Regions from separate parts of the Homo sapiens genome. Here region 2 is linked to region 1. The links are contacts of gene promoters, found by promoter capture Hi-C in blood cells and fetal thymus (Javierre and others, 2016). All regions are on one chromosome and are shown on one strand. Each heading gives the region's core, a stretch centred on a gene start or on the middle of the fragment in contact. The rest is flanking DNA. Distances are from core to core; before and after follow the strand shown. Region 1 holds the start of INO80C (INO80 complex subunit C). Region 2 overlaps GALNT1 (polypeptide N-acetylgalactosaminyltransferase 1).

What was found. Contacts are between HindIII fragments. The CHiCAGO score rates a contact against its expected background, and 5 or more counts as called.
Region 2: a fragment that was not itself captured here is called in contact with the fragment with the promoter of INO80C in region 1 in 1 of 17 cell types (M1 macrophages); the score reaches 5.3 in M1 macrophages.

The regions. Positions count from the first base shown.
Region 1 is chr18:35,493,926-35,501,515 of GRCh38, reverse strand. INO80C (INO80 complex subunit C) reads left to right here and starts at 3,556. Exons shown (of 5, transcript NM_194281.4): 1 at 3,556-3,797. The coding sequence starts at 3,642. RefSeq lists enhancers at 3,379-3,648, 3,999-4,118, 4,389-4,538. The HindIII fragment of the contact is 4,638 bases long and covers 1,265-5,902 here.
Region 2 is chr18:35,642,316-35,649,905 of GRCh38, reverse strand. The region is part of intron 1 of GALNT1 (polypeptide N-acetylgalactosaminyltransferase 1); the gene reads right to left. Among named protein-coding and RNA genes, the nearest start is that of MIR3975, 54 kb to the right of the region's middle. The HindIII fragment of the contact is 1,930 bases long and covers 2,168-4,097 here.

The DNA.
Region 1 (7,590 bases), core at 2,307-4,806:
ATGGTTTCAAGCAGGCGGTGTGATCTGAAAAATGCACATTTGTATCTTTAAAGAAATCATCTGGAATCGCATGTTGGAACTGGGTTGCACGGACCAAAGGTGGAGGCAGAAAGAGAACGCATAAGGCCACTTTGCAAGTCCAGAGAGAGATGGTGGCTGGAATACGGTTATGGTGTGGAGTGGAGGAAGGGGAGGAGTCAAGGATGACTCCCAAGTTTTGGTCTGAAGAACTGGTGGCTAATCGTGGCATTTGCTGAGACAGGAAACACTGAAGGAGGAATCTGTTTTAGAGGAGCAGAGAGGATGATGAATTCTGTTTTTGCCATGCGGAGTGAAAGATGCGTGTAAGCATCTGAGTTTATACTAGGGAAAGGAATTTTACGTCCAGGTATGCTTTTTTTTTTTTTTTTTTGAGACGGAGTCTTCCTCTGTCGCCCAGGCTCACTGAAACCTCCACCCTCCGAGTTCAAGTGATTCTTGTGCCTCAGTCTCCCAAGTAGCTGGGGCTACAGGCAGGCCCCACCATGCTTGGCTAATTTTTGTATTTTTTTAGTAGAGACGAGGTTTCACCCATGTTGGCCAGGCTGGACTTGAACTCCTGACCTCAAGTGATCCACTCGCCTCGGCTTCCCAAAGTGTTGGGATTACAGACATGAGCCACCATACCTGGCCTTGGGTATGCATCTTTGGAGAAAGAGCCAGATAAAGGATGCAAATCTGAAAGTGGTCTGCATTTAGGTGGTAACTGAATCCGCAAGAAATGGTGCAATGGCTGGGGAGAGTATCAACTGAGAAGAGCAGAGGGCCTTGGACCAAGCACCAAGGAACTCTCAATATGTAAGGATTCTGTGCAAGAGTCTGGTTTCAAACCTGGCTGATCATTAGAATCACTTGGGAAACTTTTAAAATGTGAATCTACAGGAGCATGTGACTATATATTTTGAAAAACCTGTAGTAGCATTAGAGACCATTTGGTAACAGAAGACTGGCCAGGAAAGAGGAAAACAAAAAGATGGTGATGTTTCAGATACCAAGGGAAGAATTTCAGAAAGAAAGGAATCAGACAAGATCAGGCCTGAATTTAGTAACAGGAAACCAGATGGCGGTGCATCCACTTGTCTGACTCCTTAAAAGTAGGGAGTTGGTGTTTGAACTCAATAAGGGATGACAGGAAGCAGCCCAGCAGGTCCCCCTGTGCTCACGTGCACAGCGTGAGGACAGGGAAAGGGAAGGGGAAGGAAGGTGTGTCAGATGGCAGAAAGCTTTTCATTGGAAGTAGCATCTGAACTGAGGCAAAATGGATGGTAATCAGGCAAGGAGCTAAGCATTCCCAGGAGAGGAAATAATAGAAACAAAAATATGACAAGCTAAGAAAACATATACATTCTAGGAAATAGAGTTAGTCCTTGGCTGGAACACAAGGAATTAAGTGTTGGGAACCAAGCAACAGAATGGGGCACAGCCCAGTTGTTGTTGTTGTTGTTGTTGTTGTCGTTTTGAGGCGGAGTCTTGCTCTGTTGCCAGGCTGGAGTGCAGTGGCACGATCTCTGCTCACTGCAATCTCCCGGGTTCAAGCGATTCTCCTGCCTCAGCCTTCTGAGTAGCTGGGATTACAGGCGCATGCCACCATACTCAGCTAATTTTTGTATTTTTAGTAGAGACGAGGTTTCACCGTGTTGGACAGGATGGCCTTTATCTCCTGACCTTGTGATCTGCCCGCCTCAGCCTCTCAAAGTGTTGGGATTACAGGTGTGAGCCACCGCGCCCGGCCCAGAGCCCAGTCATTAAGGACCTTGTATGACAAGCCAAAACGTTCTTACCCTGAAGGTAAAAAAAAAATTTTACCCTGAAGGCAAAAGGGCCCTGAAGAATGTAAGAAAGTAAGTGGTATGATTATATTTGTAATTTAGAAATCCCATTCTGGCAGCCAGTGTGAAGGATGGTCTGGGGTCAGGAATGGATAAGGGAAAGATGGCGGCCGAAACGTCCATCTGGAGGCTGTTGCTGAGATGTAGACATGGGATACAGATTCACCAGGGCAGGAGCCGTGAAGGAGAGAAGCGAGCTGAGGAGGTGAGGAATGGGAGGAGGTGGGGACAGTAGAGTTTGCTTAGGTGACTGGCTTGTTGGAGGTGAGTCCTTGAGTTAAGGAATGAGGAAAAGACTAGCTTTAGATGAGGATAGGGATGGAGATGGGGTGTGGGAAAGAACATTTCAACACTGGTAGGCTTATTCCTTTCTCTAAAGGAAAAAATATGTCAGTAACAATATTGCAAGTTTCCCTAACTGCTCCTTCTCTCTCACCTCTAAGTCATTGTGCAGCCTGTTTATTTCAAATATCAAGACTCATATACATCAACTTCCTGTATTCAAACATAGTAGCTTCCACCAATCACTGCAGGGAGTTAGTTCATTCGTTAAATACATCATTAAAAATACTTATAATGCACCAATGACTTGCAAGGTACTGTGATTGGGGGGACTGATAAGTTAACAAGACATAACTGACCCTTCCCTCATACAGATTACATTCTAGCAGGAGCCAAAAAAGACATTAACCATCCGATTATAAATCATTTAGTTATATGATGTCGCAAAGGTTCTGTAAAAATATAGGGTAGAATGAGGCAAAGAACAAGGCGGGTAGGGGGACTCAGGTTCCTAAATAGGTTTTAGTAGATCTGTGACCTCCCTGAAATCTGTAAAATTTTGTCTGTGTCTGTATACATTTAATGGGGTGGTGGGGAGGTGGGGGTGTGCGGCAGGGATAGGAAGCACAGATTCCATGCTCAAGAGTCTGTGAATCCTAAGAGATTAAGAACCGGCCGGGCGTGGTGGCTTACGCCTGTAATCCCAGCACTTAGGGAGGCCGAGGCGGGCAGATCACCTGAGGTCGGGAGCTCGAGACCAGCCTGACCAACATGGAGAAACCCCGTCTCTACTAAAAATACAAAATTAGCCGGGCATGGTGGCACATGCCTGTGATCCCAGCTACTCGGGAGGCTGAGGCAGGAGAATCGCTTGAACCCGGGAGGCGGAGTTTGCAGTGAGCCGAGATCGCGCCATTGCACTCCAGCCTGGACAACAAGAGCGAAACTCCGTCTCAAATAAAAGAAAAAAAAAAAGGGAGAGATTAAGAACCACTCTACCCTTCATGTCCATTTGGGCGCTATTTATATACAAACCTTTTCCGCGTGGGAAGGCAGGGAGGGATAGAGGGAGAAGCCAGTAGCTTGGCGGTCTACTGAGAACGACCCCAGCTTTAGGCTTACAGACATCAAAAGTAATCACTCTTCTATATGAGAAAAGACAACACGCTCATTAATTTTTTAAAACGTAGTTACTTAAAAAGATTGGGAGATTTTCTATTCCTCTATCAATGGGGATTTCCAGGCACGTGCCCCACCCAAGGCCCACGCCCAGAGCGCCCGAGTGGCAGGACAACGCCCGCTGACATCTTCCCGTCCCGACGGCACAGGCTACTCCGAGCTCCGCCTTTTAGATTGCACCGAGAGAAGCCAGCTACAGCTTGGAGTCCAGGCCGGGTTTTCAAGCATCAAGACGGAAGTAACAGCGGAAAGGAAGTTCCAAGGCCCGCGCTGGGAAAAAGGTGGGGGGACCAGGGGAAGACTCGGAGTGCGATGGCGGCGCAAATTCCAATTGTGGCCACCACTTCCACTCCCGGAATAGTCCGGAACAGCAAGAAGAGGCCGGCCAGCCCTTCCCACAATGGCAGCAGCGGCGGGGGCTATGGCGCCAGTAAGAAGAAAAAAGCGTCCGCTTCCAGCTTTGCGCAGGTACGCAGTCGCGCTCCCAGGCTGCGCGTGCGCGTCGCGAAACGGGACTTGGCGGGGCGGAGCCGAGCCAGGGCGCGTGCGTAATGTGGGGCGCTGCGCGTGCGGTCTCCGTTGGGGTTGAAAGACGCTGCCCCGCGGAGTGAATGACTACTCTTTCCCTTCGTTTGGACACATGGGCTTACAACGCCTTGTGTTGTAAGGAGAGAAGAAGAAGTAGGGAGGTTATTACTGACTTAGTATTAATAGAAGGACTGCCTCTTCCCCTCGAGGTCGCCTTTAGCATGAGGTTCAGGACTAATGAGTGTCAGTCATTCAGAAATTTGCGTGTCTTCCCCTCGTCCATTCTGCAGACATCTACCCAGTGTCTTTGAGGCGCATAGCGCTGTAATGTCCTGCATGGATGAATACAAGATGTATTGATAAGTATGCTTTCTCTCATCCTGAGAAAAGTGCTTTTTTGACCCTGGGTTTCCCAATCCAAAGGCAGGTTTGGTCTTAACTCATGGGCTTGTTAAGGTTATGAAGTAATGAGTGTAAAGGCACTGAGCTCAGCGCCTGGCTCAGACGTCAGGGCCTCTGAACAATCTAGGTTCCGTAATTCCAGCAATGAATTTTCAGCAGGGAGTGGCTTGATTAGTGTTTTCTCTGGCTCCTGCATTTTATTCAAAGCAAAAAAGCAGAGATAGAGTGTGTTACTTTGTGCTCCTCAGCATATGGTGTGACACCACCGTTCACCCAGTCAGTCAGTGGCTGTTCTAGAAATCTTGTTCCTTCTTCTGTAGGTGATTGGTAGTGCTTTTTATTTTAACCTTTTAATATTAAATACTTTGCTATAGTAAGATTTACACAGAGTACAATGCACAAATTTTCAAGAATACTGGCTGAACCACAGATCTTCAAGAATCCTGTCTCACGCCTGTATCCCAGCACTTTGAGAGGCCAAGGTGAGAGGATTGCTTGAGGACAGGAGTTCGAGACCTGCTCCCCAACCCCCATCCAAATTTACAAATAGCTGGGCGTGATGGTGCACGCCTTTAGTCCCAACTACAAGAGCATCACTTAAGCCCAAGATTTCAAGGTTACAGCGAGCTATGATCGTGCCATTGCAGTCCAGCTTGGGCAACAGAGTGAGCCTATCGCAAACAAAACAAAACAAAACAAAACTACAGATCCAGTGCCCTTTTACATTTGTATACACCTATGGCCACTGCCTGGATCAAGATAGCATTTCTAAGAGCAGGTGACATTTTCCTGTCAGTACTGTCTTTCCTTCCTAACAGTTACCCACTGTTCAGCCACCCTTCACAATAGACTGACTTTGGGTTGGAACATAATATAAATGGAATAATACAGGACAATAGGGAACATATTCTTTTGCATCTGTCTAGGTTCCTTTTTGAGACAATGTTTTTGAGAGTCGTTTAGTACATCTGTTGCATTGTATAAACATACACCCGATGAATATTTGAACGTTTACAGTTTTTGGCTTTGTGCAGAAGCTGCTCTGAACATTCTTGTACAAGTCTTTGTGTAGATAGATGCTTTCATTTCTCTTGAGAAGTAGTGGAATTGCTGAGTCAGAAGGTAGGCATACATTTAACTCAGTAACTGTTAAACAGTATTTCTCAAAGTAGTTGCACTGTTTTTGCATTCTTACCGGCAAAGTATGAGAGTGCCAGTTGCTCGAAATCCTCAACAATACAGAGTATTGTCAGTCTTTCATTGTCAGTCTTTAACTTTTAGCCATTTTGTTGAGTGTGTAGTAGTATCTCCTTGTTTTAATTTGTTTCTCTGATGGCTAATGATATCAATCACTTTTCATGAGCTTGTTGGACATTCCAGATCTTTTGTGGAGTGCCTAATTATTTTTTTCTAATTGGCTTTTAAAAAAAAATTATATTGATGTGTAGAAGTTCATTACATTATCTTTCTTGATTAGACTCCTTTGCCAGATGTATGTATTGTGAGTAATTGCTCCCAGCCTGCGACTGGTGCGTTTTGATAACCAGTTGTGCCAGGACCAAGGAGTGTCACTAGGACATATGGGTAGGAATAATTGTTTTGACCCCAAAGGGATTGTTGATCAACTTCCACTACCACAAGCTTCTGAAAGTGGTCAAATGCCTTCAGGAGACTGGAAATTCCCAGTAATCCAATATGGTGGAAATCTTAACTCTCTATTCCCTCTGGGCCTTTTTTGTATCCAAGCAGCAGCCTCAGGAGAAGCTGGAAAGGGCAGAGCATTTCATGAAATAGTGCCTTCTTTTGTCCTGACTCTCCTTTTCCCAACTGATATTTACTAAAGAAGACAGGGTCTTCTTCTGTCACCCAGGCTGGAGGACAGTGGCACAATCATGGCTCACTGCAGCCTCGACCTCCTGGCTCAGTGGATCCTCCCACCTCAGCCTCCCAAGTAGCTGGGACGACAGGTGCATGCCACCATTGTATTTTTGGTAGAGGTGGAATTTCACCACATAACCCAAGCTCGTCTCAAACTCCTGGGGTCAAGCAATCTGCCCACATTGGCCTCCCAAAGTTTAGGGATTACAGGCATGAGCCACTGTGCCCGGTTGTCTTAGATTTTTGCCTTGCTGTGATCCTTTCATTCTAGTTCCCTTTTCACAGCGTATAGGAAATAAGCAGGCATAAGCACAGTACCCCTGAGGGCTGCCAGGAATCTTCTTGAGGTCACCCTCATCTGTGTCACTTGCCCAACCTTTCTGTTCTGTTTCAGTTCAGTTCATGTAGCAGTAATTTATTGTACTGTTTCTGTTCCATCCCCAGCAGTATGCTTAAGACATTTCAAAGGATTATAGCTTGTCCCCACACTACCAAAAACATCCCAGGAGAGAATGACGTATATACATTGTGTTTAGTTTTCTACTGCTGTCATTACAAATTATCACAAATTTAGTGGCTTAAATAACACTCATTTAGTAGCTCATGGTTCTGTAGGTCAGAAGTCCTGACACAATGCAACTGGGTTGACTCTCTGCTCTGGGTATCACAAAGCTGAAATCAAAGTGTTAGCCGAGTTCTTGTCTGAAGGCTCTGGGGAGAAATTTGCATGCAGGTGAATTCAGGTTGTTGGCAGAATTCTGTTCTTTTGGGGCGGCAGGACTGCAGGGCCCCTGTCTTCTTGCTGGCTGTCAGCTGCTGCCCGTGTTCCTTGCCACATGGCGTTTTCCATTTTCAGAGCCAGCTATGGAGAATCTCCCTTGTGTCCAATTCTTCTCATGCTTCAGATATTTCAGACTTCTTTTATTGCTGACCCCTGGACTCAGATTTAAAAGATTTATGTGATTAGGCAGGCCTACTTGGATAATCACCTTTTTTAAAAGTCAGCTGATTTGAGACCTTAATTACATCTGCAAAACCCCTTTGTAGCTGCACCTAGATTAGTGTCTGCTTGAATAACTCGGAGAAATTGTGTGCACACCAGGGGCAGAGTACTTGCAAGGTAGCAGGGGTGTACTGGAATTCTACCTATCACACAAATGAAACCATTAGGAAGATATAGTAATGTCTAACCTTGAGCCAAAGCTAATTATAGGTAATTATAGGTGTTGGTGCCCTATTGTGGTGAGACACAGGAGGATGATTCCTCAGTGCTGGTGATGGTACTCAAAGGAGAGGTAGGGAGGCAGAGGGACTTGAAGTTGGCTTGGAGAGGTTTGCTGGAGAAGGCATTCCAGGTTCAGAGCTGTGCTCATTGTGAGATTAACCCAGGTTGCCCAAGGTTCCCTTAGTGGGGAAGTGAGTGTTTTTCTATAAATGATTGTATTTCTTGAGT
Region 2 (7,590 bases), core at 1,883-4,382, 150 kb before region 1:
GAGTGCTAACCTTAGCACTAAGCCAAGCCCTGCTCTCTACAACAGATCCACACATATACAGTCCATTGTTATGGAGAAATAACAGTTTTTTCAACAGTCCCAGAACAATTAGATATCCATATACAATAAAAACACAAATATTGGCCCATATCCTATACCACATACAAATATTAACTCAAATTTTTGAACTAGATCTGGAATAAAACAGAATAAAATCTTTTGAGACCCTGAGACCTTAGGCAAAGATTCCCTAGATAGAACAAAAAAGCACAAACCATTAAAAAAAATAAACTGGACTTCCTAACTAATCTTCAAAAGACACCATTAAGAAAATATCTGTTTATACTCAGGTGATACACCTTTATTGATTAAGCTAAAACTTCCAATTTTTCTTTGAAAGAAAATAAAGAGCAAGTCACAAATTTGGGAGAAAATATTTATAAGTCACATATCTGATAGACGACTAGTATCCGGAATATATAAAAAACTTTCAAAACACAGTAAGAAAACAAACAATCCAATAAAATAGGCAGAAGGTCTGAATTGTCACTTTACCAAAAAAGCCAAACACTTTTTTCAGATGGCAAATGAGTACATGAAAAGAAATTCAACATTAAATTAAAACCACAATGAAACACCACTATGAACTGATTAAAACAGCTAAAAGAAAAAAGAAAAACAACAAGTGCTGGAAAGGAATTGGAGCAACTGGAACTCTAATACGGTGCCAGTGGGAATGCAAAATGGTACAGCCTCTCTGGAAAACAGGGGAGTTTCTCCCCACAAGAATCTGTAATCCCGTTCCTATTTATTCAGGAGAAAGGAAAACATATCTGCACACAGCCCTGTATGCACATCTTTATAGCAGCCTACTTATAATCATCAATATCTGGAAACAATCCAAATGTCAATCATCTGATGAATGGATAAACAAATTGCACTATATTTATACAATGAAACACCACCCAGCAACCAGCAATAAATCAGATCAGCGGCTGCCAAGGGCTGAAAAAGGAATAGGGGATTGCCCATAAATGAATCTGTGGCAATGAAAACATTCCATAACTTTCTTGGGCTGGGGGTCATACAACTGTGTCCACTGTATAAACTTATACAACTGAACCTAAAATGATGAATTTTACTGTATATAAATTCAATCTCAATCAACTTAAAAATAAACAAACATGGGGGAGAGGATACCTCAAAGAAACAATGCCAGTTTTACAAAGAGAGAAACTGTTTTATGTTTTCTCAAAAGACACATACCAGAATTCATTTTGGAAGTAACTAAAAGTTGCTTATTTTGTCCCAACCACATAAGTTAAAACCTTCCATTTGAAATGCATTTAACTACTTATTTTTAAAGTTATAAAATTAGAGTTAATATCAAAGTATAGTGATTAATTACAGATGCTTCTCGACTTATGATGGGGTAATGTACCAATAAACCCATCATAAGTTGAAAACATCTTAAGTCGAAAGTCGAAAATGCCTTTAATACAACTAACCAACAGAACATTATAGCTTAGCCTAGCCTACCTTAAATGTGCTCAGAACACTTGCATTAGCATATAGTTGTGCAAAATCATCTAACACAAAGCTTATTTTACAATAAAGTGTTGAATATCTTATGCAATTTACTGAATACCATACTTACACATAAATTGTGATGGTTTTACACTCTCACAAAGTCAAAAAATCTTAAGTCAGGGCCCATTTGCATATCAGTAAACTTCTGATCCAATCCTCTCTCCCTCCCTCCCTCCCTTCCTTCCTTCCCTCCCTCTTTCCTTCCCTCCTTTCCTCCCTCCCTTCCACCCTTCCTCACTTCCTCCCTTCCTCACTTCCTCCCTTCCTTCTTCTTCTTCTTCTTCTTCTTCTCTTTTTGTTTTTGACAGGTTCTCACTTTGTACCCAGGCTGGTCTTGAATTCCTGGTCTCAAGTGATCCACCCACCACGGCCTCCCAAACTGCTGGGATTACAGGCACGCACCACCACGCCTAACCCTGATCCTATTCTTAATATCACATGCCAAATTTTCCCAAAGATTAATCAGTATTTTCTACGGCCAAATGATTTTCTCCTACCCCTCATATTTCTAACCAAAGCTCTCCAGAAAGTTTGAGAGAATCTCAGCTGGATAGTAACTTTCTGAGAAAACAAAGCTTCATTCTCTTGGATCCTAGCTTTACTCCTCTCTCCTGAGAACACAGCAGTCTCCCAGCCACCCACAGCCAGGATCACTAGTTTTACATCATACTAACCAGACAGAGGTATTACATATGAGAACCTTCGACAAATCTATTTATTTAATTAACAGCTAGAGTTTCTGCCAAGAAAACTAAAAGACTTAAAAAAGACAAGTGTTATCCTCCAATACAAATAAAAGAGCCTAGATTATTTTATTAATTTTATATTCTATTTGCTCTATTTCTCAAACAGAACTATAATCAATGTATTAATTCACTTATTAACTCATTCAGTCACCCAAACAGTAAATGTAGGGAATGTGTCAAATGCAGGGAATACAAGGGTGAACAAAATGCACACACTCCCTGACTTTATGAAGTTCAGAGTTGGCTCCAGGGAAGCAGACGTTAATAATCATATAAATGTGAAATTCCAATTGTGATAACTGCTTTGAAAGAAGGTACACAGCTCTACACACATCTATAATAGATTTGACTTTGTCAAAAAGGCTTCCCTAAGAAAGACATGGTTTGAGGGAAAATAAGCATTACAGGCAGTGAATAGTAAAGGCTCTACAGCAGAAAGGAGCCCAACACTGAAAAGCTAGTGAACTGAAGAAAAAGAAAAGGAAACTGTGATGTGAGATGAAGCTGGAGATGATAAAAGTGGGAAGATACAAGAGATACGATGGGACAAACTCAATCCTAGCTTGTACAGCTGGACAGAGAAAGGTGTCAATCATGGAAATGGGGACCAGTGAAAAAGGACCAATTTTTGGAGGGGAGGAGAAGATGGGAAGAAACGTTAAGTGTGATTTGGGACATGTTGAGTATGAGGTGCCTTTGAACCTTCAATGAGAGATGCTACCATGGCTGCTTGGATATACACAGGGCTCAAAGGAGAGGCCTGAGGTAAAGATATCCAGACAGAAGCCCTTGACTTATGCTACTCTGTAGGGCAGACAGACTAAAAGAAACACACAAAATACTTTTTGTATCATTTAACTTCCTCCTAGAGTGTGGGCTGGACTTAGTGACTTGCTTCTAACCAACAGAATATGATGGAAGTGAAGACTGAGTCATTAAACACTCTATGGCCTCCCCCAGCACTCTCTCTGATCACACTCTGGGGAAGGCCAGTGCCATGTCAGAAGGATGCTTAAGCATTCCTATGCAGAGGTCCACATAGTAAGAAACTGAAGCCTCCTGCTTACAACCAACATTATGCTGCCAGGCATGAAAGTGAGACCCCCTTGAAAGCAGCCCCAGGCAAGCCTTCAGATGACGGCAGCTCCAGCTGACATCTTGAGTACAACCTCATGAAAGATCCTGAGCCAATATCCTGCTAAGATGCTTGATATAGTTTGGCTCGGTGTCCCCACCCAAATCTCATGTTGAATGGTAATCCCCAGTATTGGGGAAGGGACCTGGTGGGAGGTAAAAGGATCATGGGGGCAGATTTCCCCCTTGCTGTTCTCGGGATAGTGAGTGAGTTCTTAGGAGATCTGATGGTTTACAAATGTGTGGCACTTCCCCCACCTCTTTCTCTCTCCTGCTCCTCCATGGTAAGACATGCTTGCTTCCCCTTCACCTTCTGCCATGATTGTAAGTTTCCTGAGGCCTCCTAGTCATGCTTCCTGGTAAGCCCGTGGAACTGTGAGTCAATTAAGCCCCTTTTCTTCATAAATTATCGAGTCTCAGGTAGTTCTTCATAGCAGTGTAAAAATGAACTAATACACTGCTCTTCCATTCCTGACCCAAAGAAAATATGAGATAATAACTTCATTGCTTAAAGCCATTAAATTTTTAGGTAATTCATTACTCAGCAACCGAAAACTTCAACAGCAAACTAGAACTAGAAAGGGAATTCTTTAATCTACAATAAACATCATATTTAATGATGAAGCTTCAGTTAAAATAAGGCAAGTTATGTATCCTCACTTCAGTCTGACACTGTACTGAAGGTCCAAGCAACAGATAAGAAAATGAATTAAGGATTAGGGGGAAAAAAACAAAATTATCATCTGCAGATGGTATGATTTCTACATAGAAATTATTTAAGAATCAAAAGATAAACCATTAGAGCTAATTATTGATTTCATAAGGCAGATGACTACAGATGAACATATAACATCAGTCGTGCTCCTATATGGTAGTTATAACTATTTAGAATATATAAAATAAACCGGCCAGGTGCGGCAGCTCACGCCTATAATCCCAGCACTTTGGGAGGCCACGGGCGGATCAGGAGGTCAGGAGATCGAGACCATCCTGGCTAACACGGTGAAACCCCGTCTCTACTAAAAATACAAAAAATTAGCCGGGCATGGTGGCGGGCGCCTGTAGTCTCAGCTACTTGGGAAGGAGGCTGAGGCAGGAGAATGGTGTGACCTGGGAGGCAGAACTTGCAGTGAGCTGAGATTGCGCCACTGCACTCCAGCCTGGGCAACAGAGCGAGACTCCATCTCCCAGAAAAAAAAAAAAAAAAAAAAAAAAAACATTCAAAATAGCTATGAAAACCCAACAGGTGCAAGAGGTGAAGAAAACTGTGGAGCTTTATTGAAGGATACAAAAGAATAACTAACTAATGAATAGATGAGAAAATGAATACAAGGTTATTCCCAAAATTAATCTATAAATTCAATATAATTCTTATCAAAACCCAAATGAGGCTTTGGGGAATGGATTTATTTATTTATTTATTCATTTACTTATTTATTTATTTTGAGACAGAGTCTTGCTCTGTCACCCAGGCCGGAGTGCAGTGGTGTGATCCTGGCTCACTGCAACCTTTGCCACCTGGGTTCAAGCAATTATCCTGCCTTAGCCTCCCAAGTAGCTGGGTCTACAGGTGCATGCCACCATGCCTAGCTAATTTTTGTATTTTTAGTAGAGAAGAGGTTTCATCATGTTGACCAGGCTGGTCTCAAACGCGTCACCTGAAGTGATACGCCCGCCTCAGCCTCCCAAAGTGCTGGGATTACTGGTGTGAGTCACCACGCCTGGCCTGGACTGAATTATAAAGCAGACGTACTTAAAACCATATGGTAACCCAAAACAAATCCATACAAGTGTGAAAAACTAAAAAGATGCTACTACAAAGAAAATTGGTGCAGGGACAAGTGGCTTTCCATATAATTAAAAAATAAACTTGGATCCTACCTTATAGCAATATAAAAGTGAATATGTAGAAAGATAACTGAAGCCAAAATTGTCAAAACCAAGTAGCAGCTATTCTGGCTTACCCCTAGTAGCCAAAGTGAGTACGGCTCCAGTCTCGTAGGCTTCAATTTATATTCCCAGCTTCCTATAAAGTGTTCAGGCCAATACTTCTGCCACAGTTTTTGAGCTGTCAAGTGGTTACTGATCGAAATTTAGCACTGAGAAGCCTTATTCGATAGCCAAAGAAAAAGGAGAACCAATTTTCAGGTCTTGGAATCTTCTTATTCAACATAAGTATTTAACAAAAAATTAGCAAATAATCAATCCAAAATTCCTGCCCAGATTGATGTCCACATTCCATTAAAACCTGGATATTCTCTTTCTGTAGTTATTTCCCGGGTGTTATCTCAAGTTTAGAGGTCAGAAGAACAAGCTTATCATTTGGGGTAGTCATGATGTAAATAAACTCCTATAAAATTTATTGGCTCGAATGTTTCAAATTAGAGAATACAGTGTTTAGTGTCTTGAGTGGAATGTCAGTTTTTAAGATGACAAACTGACTTCCACCAATACCTTTAAAAGTTTATATTTTTCCTGTTTGTAAAGTAATGTATGTTCAAAACAAAGAACCTGGCAAACAGAAAAGCAAAAGATACAAACTCCCTACAAATTTGCATCCCAATGAAACACCAATGGGTTAAATGCCCTTCCAGTCATTCAGAATAGTAGATATGTGTTTTTTTTTCTTTTTTTTTTTTTGAGTCAGTCTCACTCTGTTGCCCAGGCTGGAGTGTAGTGGCACGATCTCGGCTCACTGCAAGCTCCACCTCCCCGGTTCACGCCATTCTCCTGCCTCAGCCTCCCGAGTAGCTGGGACTACAGGTGCCTGCCATCAGCCTCCCGAGTAGCTGGGACTACAGGTGCCTGCCACCACGCCCTGCTCATTTTTTGAATTTGTAGAGATGGGGTTTCACTGTGGTAGCCAGGATGGTCTCGATCTCCTGACCTCGTGATCTGCCTGCCTCGGCCTCCCAAAGTGTTGGGATTACAGGCGTGAGCCACCGTGCCCAGCCAGATATGTGTTATGTTTTAAACCAAGTTTGTAACATCTATTTAGACTCAAGTACTTAATGCCTTAAATGTCCTTATGGGAAGAAGGGAAGGAGACAGGTGTGACTATAAAGTGGTAGGAGAGCTGATCATGCTGTATTTTTATTTTTAACAGGTAATAATATGCTCAACAGACATTTCTAACCCCTCTTCCCACCTCGGCCATGTCTCAGTGCCATGTCTTAGGCAACATCTTAGCGTTAACATCAAAACAGCCCTGATATCCACACAAAGGTGTGACAAAATGCCACACATATTGCTTTACAATTAATACATATGTAACCATTACAAACAGAAGTGGCTGCCGGGCTCATGATTCTGACCCTTAACCTCTCCTCCCCTCCTCAAAAGGTTTCTTCTGGTAACAGATCCAGTTGCCTGGCCACAGTATGACCTAGCCAGGCTGACCACAGGACCTGACTCCTTGGCCTGAGTCACAGACCTGGAAGGCTGTGCTCTAGGACTGCGCTCAGTCACACTGCCCCCGACATGGAGAAGGCCACTTGCAGCCAAAAACAATGTGGCCAAGCAGAGACATACAGATGAGTGGCAGAGCACCCTGACAGTGACCAAGTCCCTGACTCTTCCTTGGCTTCAGTGACCCAACGAGGAATCCTATTAGTCCCCTTTTCTGCTTAAGAAAATCTGAATTGGGTTCCTGACACAACCAGAATGCTTGGGGAACCAGGGAAGAGGGGGCAATAGGTAAAAAGCAGCTTCTAGTCTGCTGATGAGCTTCCACTCTGTGGGTCATAATTATATATTATGAGACAGACTATACTATTTGAAAAGATACTTTTTAATGCCCCAGATCACAAAAACTTATAAAATATCAAAAGAGTACGTATAAAACATGTCACGGAAATAAATGATCACAACACAACACACATCTCCACCACCTGGTTTAACAATAAGAACATGATTTTTAAAGTTCCCTCTCAAATCCCATCTCTTCCCCAACTCTTCAAAGGCAATCCCTATTCTTACGGTCCTTCCTTGTCCTGATAATTTAACCTCACGAGTATCTTTAACAATGCCTTATTTATACTTGACTGTTTCTGAAGTGCTTATAAGTGGAAAAACCTGACTTGCTTTTTTCTAACACTGTTTCTGAGATTTATCCATATGC